Regions from separate parts of the Homo sapiens genome. Here region 1 is linked to region 2. Evidence: promoter capture Hi-C in human tissues and cell types (Jung and others, 2019). All regions are on one chromosome and are shown on one strand. Each heading gives the region's core, a stretch centred on a gene start or on the middle of the fragment in contact. The rest is flanking DNA. Distances are from core to core; before and after follow the strand shown.

The links. Contacts are between HindIII fragments. The study calls those that stand out against the background at their distance.
Region 1: a contact is called between a fragment that was not itself captured here and the fragment with the promoter of TMC6 in region 2, in 1 of the 25 tissues and cell types used here (spleen).

What each region holds. Positions count from the first base shown.
Region 1 is chr17:78,478,939-78,485,586 of GRCh38, forward strand. DNAH17 (dynein axonemal heavy chain 17) reads right to left here. Exons shown (of 81, transcript NM_173628.4): 47 at 6,612-6,648; 48 at 5,930-6,095; 49 at 1,746-1,848; 50 at 547-694; 51 at 87-178. DNAH17-AS1 (DNAH17 antisense RNA 1) reads left to right here and starts at 5,972. Exons shown (of 6, transcript NR_102401.1): 1 at 5,972-6,224. RefSeq lists enhancers at 5,485-5,624, 5,655-5,704 and a silencer at 5,775-6,004. The HindIII fragment of the contact is 3,081 bases long and covers 1-2,981 here.
Region 2 is chr17:78,126,723-78,130,792 of GRCh38, forward strand. TMC6 (transmembrane channel like 6) reads right to left here and starts at 2,033. Exons shown (of 20, transcript NM_001127198.5): 1 at 1,890-2,033; 2 at 55-184. The coding sequence starts at 110. It overlaps TMC8 (transmembrane channel like 8), which reads left to right and starts at 4,049. Exons shown (of 16, transcript NM_152468.5): 1 at 4,049-4,070. RefSeq lists silencers at 147-196, 247-326, 1,597-2,126 and an enhancer at 667-916. The HindIII fragment of the contact is 22,186 bases long and covers 1-4,070 here.

The sequences.
Region 1 (6,648 bases), core at 191-2,690, 350 kb after region 2:
TCCCTGAGAGCTGTGATGAGGAAAGCACCTGTGGATCAGGCACTGGACCGTAAGGCAGGCATGACATAAAGCTACAAGAGCAGTACCTGGAAAATATTGGAGAGGTCCCTGAGGTTGAAGACATAATGAAACTTAATGGCCGTGGGAAGAAATGTTGCCGTGATTTTCTGATGCAAAGCTGTTAGAGGAAAAGGACGTGTCAATTCTCATGTACTCTTGATGGCCCCAGGAAGTGCAAGCCTCAAGTTTCTAAAGCCAATGGACTACGAAATGGTGACAACTGGAGTAAGAAATCTGCACAGCTCTTTGAAGTGGGAGGGAATTTGCTGTTCTCCTTAAATCATTTGTGTATAGAATTTCCTAGCCCCTACCTCCCCATGAAGCAATTGTATTTCACAATTTCTCCTGTCGAAACATAGCATCGTTTTTAAGATATTGATTTAGAATTATAAATAAAATATTTATCAAGGGAAAATGTGAAGAACCATCAGCCCACAGAGCCATAGGTTTTACCGATGGGAGAGGGGATGAGGCCAGCCAGCTTACCCAGGGCCGCGGCCACCAGCTGGCTGCTTATCCTCTGGATAGCCATGGAGACCGAGCGGAAGGCCAGGTGCTGCGTCAGGATTGTGTTGTAGATGGTGGTGAGGGCCTCCTGGCCGGGGAAGCTCACAGCAAACACGCAGAAATGGCGCTACCCCAAAACAACCAAACACTCCAGTCAGCCAGCTCTTGGGGACCTGCCTGGGGCCAGGGCCACCTTCGCGGGAGAGTGGCCCCTGTCCTCATGTTCTAAGGTCTTTTGGGCATTGTCAGAATGGGCAGTTACCCTCCTTGTGCCTTGCATGTGGTAAAACTGCATTAAGTATCATTACACATGAAACAGACAAATTTACTTCATGCTCTCAAGAAGAATTTTGGCAAAGGCAAGAGATGGGCTCAGAGTACAGGCCTGGGTTTAAATCCAGATCTCTGTGTGTTTAGATAACTTAGAGGCAAAGTCTGTCTGGGTAAGGGCTACAGATAAAATACAGGATGCCCTGCTAAATCTGAATTTCAGATAAACAACAAGTACTTTTTTTTTTTTTTTTTTTTTTTTTTTTTTTTTTTTAAAAAAAGTATGTCCCAGGCCGGGCACGGTGACTCCCACCTGTAATCCCAGCACTTTGGGAGGCCGAGGAGGGCAGATCACTTGAGGTCAGAAGTTCGAGACCAGCCTGGCCAATATGGTGAAACCCCGTCCCTACTAAAAATACAAAAATTAGCCAGGTGTGGTGGCGCACACCTGTAGCCTCAGCTGCTTGGGAGGCTGAGGCAGGAGAATTGCTTAAACCCGGGAAGCGGAGGTTGCAGTGAGCTCAGATCACACCATTGCACTCCAGCCTGGGTGACAGAGTGAGACTCAGCCTCAAAACAAAAACAAAACAACAAAAAAAGAACGGTATGTCCCAAATATTGTATGTAACATACTTAGACTAAAAACATATTTATTTATCTGGAGTTTGGATTTAACTGCAATTTTATTTGCTAACTCTGCCAGTTGACCGGGTCACAGGGAAGGCTGGCTAGCTGCTCATCCTCTCCATGCCCTGGAATTTTCTGACACATTCTGCAAAGTTAAGGAGTTCTCCAGAAAATGTCGGCCTGCAGCCCTAACACCCTAAACCAAAGCTTTTCCTCTCATTTGCCAGAAGCAAGCCTCAGACTCATGGCAGGTGACGGGGATGAGTATGGTTTCTGCTTACCTGAAGCCTGGAGTCGATGGTGAAGGATCCGGAAGTGGGGTTCATGCAGGCCACGTACTGACAATTATGGATATCTTTTAACGTCAGCTTATGTCTGTCATACCTGAGGGGGGAAACCAGCATTCATGTTGTGCCCCTGGCCTGGAGGAACCATCCCCTGCCCCCACTGTGCTCCCAAGAATGCCCTCCTTATTATTATTTTTTTGAGACAGAGTCTCGCTCTGTTGCCCAGGCTGGAGTGCAGTGGCACAATCTCGGCTCACTGCAAGCTTTGCCTAATTTTTTGCATTTTTAGTTGAGACGGGGTTTCGCCGTGTTAGCCAGGATGGTCTCGATCTCCTAACCTCGTGATGCGCCCGCCTCAGCCTCCCAAAGTGCTGAGATTACAAGTGTGAGCCACCACGCCCGCCCCCCATCCCCCGGCTTTTTTTTTTTTTGAGATGGAGTCTCACTCAGTCACTCAGGCCGGAGTGCAGTGGCATGATCTTGGCTCACTGCAACCTCCGCCTCCTGGGTTCGCCCCATTCTCCTGCCTCAGCCTCCCGAGTAGCTGAGACTACAGGTGCCCGCCACCATGCCTGGCTAATTTTTTTGTACTTTTAGTAGAGACTGGGTTTCACCGTGTTAGCCAGGATGGTCTTGATCTCCTGACCTTGTGATCCGCCCGCCTCAGCCTCCCAAATGCTGGGATTACTCCATGTGGTCTTAAAAACCCTCCACAGATACTGATAATATGTGAAGCAGCTGCTGTGACTTCATGCTCTCCAGAGAAATTTTGAAACAAGAGGCAAAAGAGTGGCTCAGAGAGCAGGCTGGGGTTTATGTTCCAGCTCTTCCCCTAAGCAGTGCTGGGGCTCTGGGAAGTTGGTTAACATCTCTGTGCCTTAATATTCTCACCTGTGCAATGGGTCATGAGGAGGATAAAATGAGCTAACATATGAAAAAACACTGGGAAGAGTACCTGACATACAGTAAGTATGCAATAAATATTCACCATCCCTGTTATCAGGATAATTATTAATGGCTGCTATTATTAAATAAGCTGAATAGGCCAGGCACAGTGGCTCATGCCTGTAATCCTAGCACTTTGGGAGGCTGAGATGGGCAGATCACTTGAGGTCAGGAGATCAAGATCAGCCTGGCTAGCATAGTGAAACCCCATCTCTACTAAAAATACAAAAATTAGCCAGGCATGGTGGCAGGCACCTGTAATCCCAGCTACTTGGGAGGCTGAGGCAGGAGAATTGCTTGAACCTGGGAGGTGGAGGCTGCAGTGAGCCAAGATCATGCTATTGCACTCCAGCCTGGGCAACAGAGCAAGATTTCATTTCAAAAATAAAATAAAATAAGCTGAATAATTTCCTTGATGTCACACTACACTAGTTACTTTTTTTTTTTTTTTTTTTTCCCCCGAGACAGGGTCTTGCTCTCTCACCCCGGCTGGAGTGCAGTGGTGAACACAGCTCACGGCAGCCTCTATCTCCTGGGCTCAAGCTGTCCTCCCAACCTCAGCCTCACACTACCATGCCCGGCTAAGTTTTTGTAGAGACAGGGTCTCACTATATGACCTGGGTTCAAGTGATCCTCCTGCCTCCACCTCCTAAAGTGTTGAGATTACAGGCCTGAGCCACTGCGCCCAGCACTTTTGTTTTTTTCCCCCATTATGCACTTTGTGTGTTGGAAGTTGACGTCTGTTAGTTTCTAGTAATTCCTTGTATATTTCAGATATTAATCCACTGTCAATTTTATACATTGCAAATGTTTTCTTCCATTCTTTTATTTCTCCATTATATATGTCCATGGTGTCTCTCACTGAGCAAAATTCCTTAACTTTCATTTAAATCACAGCCATCAATTTTTTGCCCTTCTGTGTGTGCCTCTGAAACTTTTGCCTGCGCAGTCCTCTCCTGTGCACACTTCTCAGGTCACAGATGTTGTCCCTGTTTGCTTCTGCCCACCTCACAGCTCACCCTTTCCCTGCGGGCCCATCCTTCCCACGGGCCCCACCCTTGTCTGCCTTTTTCTTCCACAGGTGAGCATTTTCCTGACACATCCACTAAACAGTCCATCCTTCCCTGTTGTCGTGGGGCCATGTTAATCTGATATTCTAGAAGGATCTTTTGAAAACTCAAATCTCACTCTGCCACCCCTCCTGAAGATCCTTCAGGGTAAACTCCAGGGCAGATGTGGACCTAGGGCTGAAGCTTAAGAATGTGGAGGCTCCTCCTTGAGGAAAAGAAAGCAAAAATCTTAAACAAATTTTACAAGGGCACATGACCGTGTGCAACCCTTGGAAGGGGCCTCGCGAGTTGCAGGGAAACCGAGGCTGAGCCGCCACAGCCCTCACAGTAGACCTGCCTGCAGAGAGGAACGGGTGGGCTCTCATGCATGCACCTGTCCTCCTCTCCTGTCTGGGTACCCTCAAATCTCCCACCCCACACCACGTTAGGTTCTCCTCAAATGATGTCAAACTCTCTCCAGGCTCCCTCCTCAGAGTGGCAGCTTTGTCACCTCCCCCAGGGAGCCACCTCTGATGCCTCCGTCCCCACATCACAGCCTGCAGCCCAGAGTAGGCTTCCTATAGTCGTGAGCTCTGGGAGTGTCGTTTAGTGAGGAAAAGGCAAGTGATGGAGTCAGACATATCTGAACTCAAAATCCAGTTCTGGCTGAGCGTGGTGGCTCACGCCTGTAGTCCCAGCACTTTGGGAGCCCGAGGCGGGCAGATCACCTGAGGTCAGGAGTTAGAGACCTGCCTGGCCAATATAGTTAAGCCCCGTTTCTACTAAAAATACAAAAATTAGGTGGGCATGGTGGCAGGCACCTATAATTTCAGCTACTTGGGAGACTGAGGCAGGAGAATCGCTGGAACCCAGGAGGCAGAGGTTGCAGTGAGCCAAGATCACGCCATTGGACTCCAGCCTGGGCAGCAAGAGCGAAACTCTGTCTTGGAAATAATAATAATAATAATAATAATAACCCAGCTCCGCCACTCATTAGGACCATGACCTCAAGTAGACTACCTAACCCCCCATGCCTGCCTTTCTCGGCATGAGGCCAGGCTTCATGAACGAGCAGACTAGTTTCTAGGCTCTTTTGGCCTGAGCTACTTGCTTATTTTAAGAGACAACTATGGCTGGGCACGGTGGCTCACACCTCTAATCCCAGCACTTTGTGAGGCCAAGGCGGGCGGATCACCTGAGGTCAGGAGTTCGAGAACAGCCTGGCCAACATGGCGAAACCCCTTCTCTACTAAAAGTACAAAAATTAGCCGGCGTGGTGGTGGGCACCTGTATTACCAGCTACTCAGGAGGCTGAGGAAGGAGAATTCCTTGAACCCAGGAGGCGGAGGTTGCAGTAAGCCAAGATCGAGCCATTGCACTCCAGCCTGAGAGACAGAGCGAGATTTCTCCTCAAAAAAAAAAAAAAAAAAAAAAAAAAAAAAGACAACTGAACTGAATGTTCTCATCTTTCCAAACTGCAAACCTAAACGTGCCACCTTTGGTTTCTCGGTGCCGTTAGGAGAAAATCTGCACTCTGTCCCGAGGCCCTGGGATTCTGGCTGCAGCTGCCCTGGGCACCCTCTGCCTCTGGCTCTCACATCCTTGCCACACCGGCCTTCCTGGGCTTCTTCACGTGTGGCAGGGCATTTACACGTGGCAATCTCTCCACCCAGAATGCTCTCCCTCTAAGGTCCCACAGCCAGCAGGACACTGCTGCCAGCTTCCAGCTGTGCACCATCTCCCCAGGGGCATCTCTCTGCTGGGGCTCCCAGCTGGGAGGCTCCTCTGTGACTGCACTGGGGGTTTTCCTCAGGGCTCTTCCTTTACCGGGTAATGTGCTTCTTCCTCTCCCGGCGGGACAGACACCTCGGTGGAAGGGGGGAAGGAGGATCCCCCCCTCCGCGGGGGCTCTAGGCCACTGCTGCATGTTTGTGAAATGGGTGATGGACGAAACTGATAGAACCTCTCCCCTACCCTGGCCCTACCTCAATGCCTTGTGGCCCCACAAACTTGGGGGCCCAGCTACGACCCGTGTCTCCCTACCCACGTTGCAGCACCCCCCCCACCGCCCCACACCAGTCCTGCCCTACTGCCCTGGGGCTCCGCCTCTTCCTGCGCCCCGCCCTGGCCCCGCCCTCACCGCCCCGGGGCCACGCCTTCCCCTCCGGCCCCGCCCCGTCTAACCAGTGCCGGTGGTCCATGTGCTGCCGGATGAGGGTGTGCGGGGCCACCGTCCCATACTTGTCCACCTCGGGCATGTTCATGTCGTCGATGAAGTAGACGAGCTTCTTAGTGCCTGGCGGCCCGTAGTTCCTCCCCGATTTCTTCTCCAGCGGCTTCTCCAGCACCCCTAGAGAGGGCAGAGGGTCAGCTGCCCGCCTGCGCCTCCTGAGCCAGAGCCTGTTAGGTAGGGAGGGGCGCTACCTGCTTCCCCGGAGGACAGAAGGTGGGACCTGGCTGGGATCCAAGTTTACCAAAGGTACCTGCCCTGGGAGTGGCCCTTGAGGGGGCACCGGGTACAGCCCCAGGAATAAACAGAGCGATCAGAGGCGAGGGTGGCAGGAACCTTGCTCTCCGTCACCTTTGGGTCGCCTTAGATTGGCTGAGACACTCCCGGGGGACCTGCTGCCTCGACTGGCCATCAAAACCCCATCACCATGCCCACAAGGGAGCACCAGAAAGAGGGGTCCCGGCTGCTCCTCCTCTGTCTCCGACTCAGGAAGGAAAGGCCAGCGGGTGGGGCATGGGAAGTGAGGAGGTGCAAAGTGGCTAGTGAGTGCCTGGGCCTGCAGTGAGAGGGGACAGGAGGGAACGGGGACTGGCGGGGGGCAGCCGGGTAGGCAGGGCGTGGCCGGACCAGCCTCACCCTGCAGCATGGCTGAGGTCGTGTAGAAGTTGAAGGG
Region 2 (4,070 bases), core at 783-3,282:
CTCCGTGGGGGGTGGAACATTCCAGCCTCCAGCCCCCAGCCCCAGAGCGCTTACCCCTGGTCCCCTGGGGTCTCAGGGACATCGAGGATGAAGGCCAGTGGCTGGGCCATGTCTCTGGCCAATGCCCGCTAGTCTGCAGACCTAGGGTAGCTCAGAGCCTGGGCGCCACCTCCGGAGCCCCCATCTGATGAGACAGGGGCACAGAGCCAGGGGTGGTCTTCAACGCCTGGCAGCTGTCCACACCACCCATTCCTGGGGGAACCACAGGAGGTGCCACTCACAGCCCAGACAGTCCCGCCCACCCCCCTATCACCCCAGGTACATAAATGGTGAGGCACCGAATAAGCCTCATGCCAGAATGGAATGGGGGGCCCCCTCCAGTGTCAGGGGAGGGGAGAGAGGAAGGAAGGGTGTGGGGTCTGCAGTTCCACATCTGTTTCCTCGATGTCGCCAGTCCCTGGGAAATGGGGAAGAGGTAGGGTGCCTGTAGACACAGCCCCTTTCAGGATCTCCATGCCCAGGGTTCTGGCACAGAGACACCTCCTTTTTGGAGAGAAAGGTCAGAGTAGGCTGTAGGCCTTCTCTGCGTCTGCCCTGTGACCTCAAAGAACTTCCTCTAGCAGGAAATTAGCTGCTGGAGCCCTCACCCCCAACCAGCCCCAGGCGGAAGCAGCACAGGGGGCTCCTCCCCCACACACAGAGGTCACTCCATGCCACCGCCGTCAGGGCGCCAAGGTCCTCATGTTCTCAGAAGACCCACTGCCCTGCATTCCATCATCCCAGGGCGGCCGGCTGGGGGTGGCCAGGACCTCAACAGGCCTCCTTTGTCCTGGCTCTGCCGTCACCCGGCACAACTGGAACCAGAGCAGCCTTGTCTGGGGCCCTGGGCTCGGGGCCCGTTCATCTGTGAGAGTGGAGCCAGGACTCAGCTCCCAGCCACCAGCGAGTCCTGCCGGCCTCTGCCCTGGACTCCTCCTGCGCTCACCCTCAGGAACTCAGGGCTCAAAGTCGGCCGGGTTGAAGGGCGCTTTCCTCGGACAGGCAAAGCCCGGGGGCGCCCCGACAGAGCAGCTCCTTGCAGGGGTGCCAGTCACAGGACCGGACGGCGCCCTCCCTCAGTGTCCTGGGTGCCATCTTCGGGCCCAGGCCCCACACCACCCCCTCCCTCCAGCAGGAGCAAAGACGTGGGAAAACCAGCCCAGAGCTGGGTCCGAGGCGGCCCCACCCAGCCTAACACGGGACAGCTGCCGAAAGAGGGGCTGAGGACGCCCCACCCAGTCCCTAGAGCTGGAATCCCTTCCTCCAGACAGGCCCTTCTAAGCTCAGGGAACCCGGGGACTCGGGCACCCAGCGCCCCAGCACTCCGCCCCGAGGCCCAGGCAAGTCCAGCGGAGTTTCCAGGCGCACCATTCCTGAGCTAGGTGGGGAGAGGCTGGGTGGCGCCCGTTTCCAGGAACCCCCACCCCAGCCGGCAGCGAGCTTCCCGGGAGCAGCCGCTACCCAGGGAGAACCGCAACCTGGCCCCAGAGCCCAGAGCGGCTGCAACTCTGGGGCCACCGAACCCGTCCAGCCGGCCTCCCTGTCCCCCGCCCCTTCCCATCCCGGCCACACCCCCTCCCCTCCCCTCCCCGTGCCCTGGCGCTCGGCTGGGGGACCTGGGTGGGGGCTGCGGATTTTGCTCCCCGCACTGTCCTCCCCGCCCCTGCCGCTCCCAGCTCTGTCCGAGCCGGAGGGTCAAGCCCTGGGAGCTCCAGGAGCACCCGGGGAGGGAACTCGGCTGCCAAATGGCCCCAGAGGCCGAAAGGAATTCAGGGGGGATTGCCGCTGTCCCCGCATAGGAGAAGCAGCTGGGGCTGGCGGGACCCGGGACCGGGATCGCGGCCGCTCACCTGGGAGGCGCCGGGGAGGAGGGGCCGCGCGCGCAGCCAGGGCTCACCTGTGCCCCGCAAGAGCCGCCGGGAACTGAGGTCTCGGCTCTCCTTGCCAAGGGAGTGGCAAAGGGCCCCAGGGGCGACTGGGCCAGTCGCAGGTCTGCCGGGGCCGGGGGAGTAGCCGCACCTCCCGGCCCACGTGGGCGGGGGGGGGGGGGGCGGGCCTCGGCTATCACGTGACCCGGCCCGGCCCGCGGCGCCCCCGCCCTCCTCCGGGCGCCCCGCGGCGACTATGCCTTCCTCCCCTGCCAACTTCCGACCCCTCCTCCTGAGGTCTGAGCTGGGCTGGATTCATTCCAGCCCCTGGTTGAAGTCCCCAATTTTTCTGACGCTCAGTTTCCCCAAGTTCCAAAAAGGGGCAATATTTCCAGACTCATCTGCTTCCCATGGTTAGGGATCGTCCAAGTAAGATGCCGCCGAAAGCCCCAGGGACACAGAGTATCTCACTCCAGATTGGGCAGCGCCCCCCCCCCCGCCGCCCCCGCAAGCCTCCTGCTGACTCTCCCCGACCCCGGCGGGGGGAGCCTGGTTATCTCCCACTCCTGACACCTGGGCGGGGTTCATTGTTTATCTAGCAAGAGTTCTGGCTCACTTCCTGTGTGCTGTGTGGAGAGGAGGGGATGAAAAGGAGGACACGCTGACACTTAGGTGACTGTCCCCAGGTGCTGTACCCGTTGCCCTGTTTTCTGTTATTCCCCATGAGCCAGGAAGGTATGCACTGATATTCCCATTTCACAGATGAGGAAACTGAGGCTGAGAGAAGTTAATCACCCTTTAGGGTGCCCCCAGCCAAAGCAGGAGACTTAGTGGTCCACCTGGGAACTCTATGGAGGAAACTGCCTTTGAGATTGTACCCCCCACCCCAAGCCCATTTGGAAGGGAGGGTCATTCCTGGCGGGGAGAAGCCATGAAGCAGGCAGGGTGAATGTGAGCTGGGGCCCAGGAGGGCAGGAGAGGGCACTGCTGCAGGGGAGAGCAGGCAAGCAAAAGCGAGGACCAGGCAGGGGTCAAGGCTGGGGCCTTTTGGAGCTGCCAGTGTGGTCCTCAGATGGCTACCCCAAGCTGGTTCTTGGCAAGTGGCACCCTGGCATGGAGACCCAGCCCCTGCCTCTCCTCCCACTGCTTCCCCCTCCCTGCATACCCACACTGAATTTGCATGAATGCCACCTCCTCTGGGGAGCCTCCCCAGATTGAACCCTGGTGGAGCACCTACCACTTCCTATTGACATGTACATCTGTGGTTCTGTGCCCCCTCCTACCCCAGCCCACTGTGTGCCCAGCACCAGCACATAGCTTGCGCCTGACACACAGAAAGGACTCTGGAAACCAGGAAGGAGGTGGGCAGAGAGGCAGAAAAGCTATGAACATTCAGACCTGAGATGACTGGGCCCTATAGCAGGTAGAGAGGGAGCAGAGAGGAAGGGCTGCGGGCTTCCCAGGGGCCCAAGGACAGAGAATTGGCAAAGATATGTCTTAAACATCTAGCCTGGGAGAGCATGAATGGAGCCAATTCCTGAGCACTTACTACCGGCCAGGTGCTAGGCCTGGGTCTTGGCACAACCATAACGCCAATGACAGGGGCTGGAAGTACAGCAGTAACACCAAGAGTATCTGGAAACCCAGCAGCCAGGTTCTGGGGAGCCCACCATCCTGTCATTATCACACCCTCCAGGGTGAGGCCGGCAGATAAAGAGTTTGGCCCCTGTGCCCCCACCGTTCCCATCCCCACCCATGTCAGGCTCCCAGCTCAGGCCTCGAGGTCAAGTCCTGCCTATCCAGGCTGGAAGGAGTTGAACAGAGAGGGCCTCAGCTGCAGGCTGGACATCCCTGGAGGCAGCCAGGCGGCAGACCCGGACCAGTGGACCCTAGGGCTGCAGGAGACCAGGCCCTGACTCCTGTGCAGAGGGGAAGGGTGGGCCACCCGCAGCCCAGCATGCACAGAGCTCCCTGGGAGGCCAAGTGGCCTACGCCTGTCACCTTCACCTCTGCATCTCAGGGGCCCACAGGAAGTGCCTGCTTGGCCTCAGTTTAAAGCAGAGGAAACCATGGGGTGAGAGGGGAGGAGGGAGGTAGTGGAGAGGGAAGCTGGGTTTCCTGTCATATGACCCCTCCTCTGGGCTCCCTCACCACCCTGCCTGG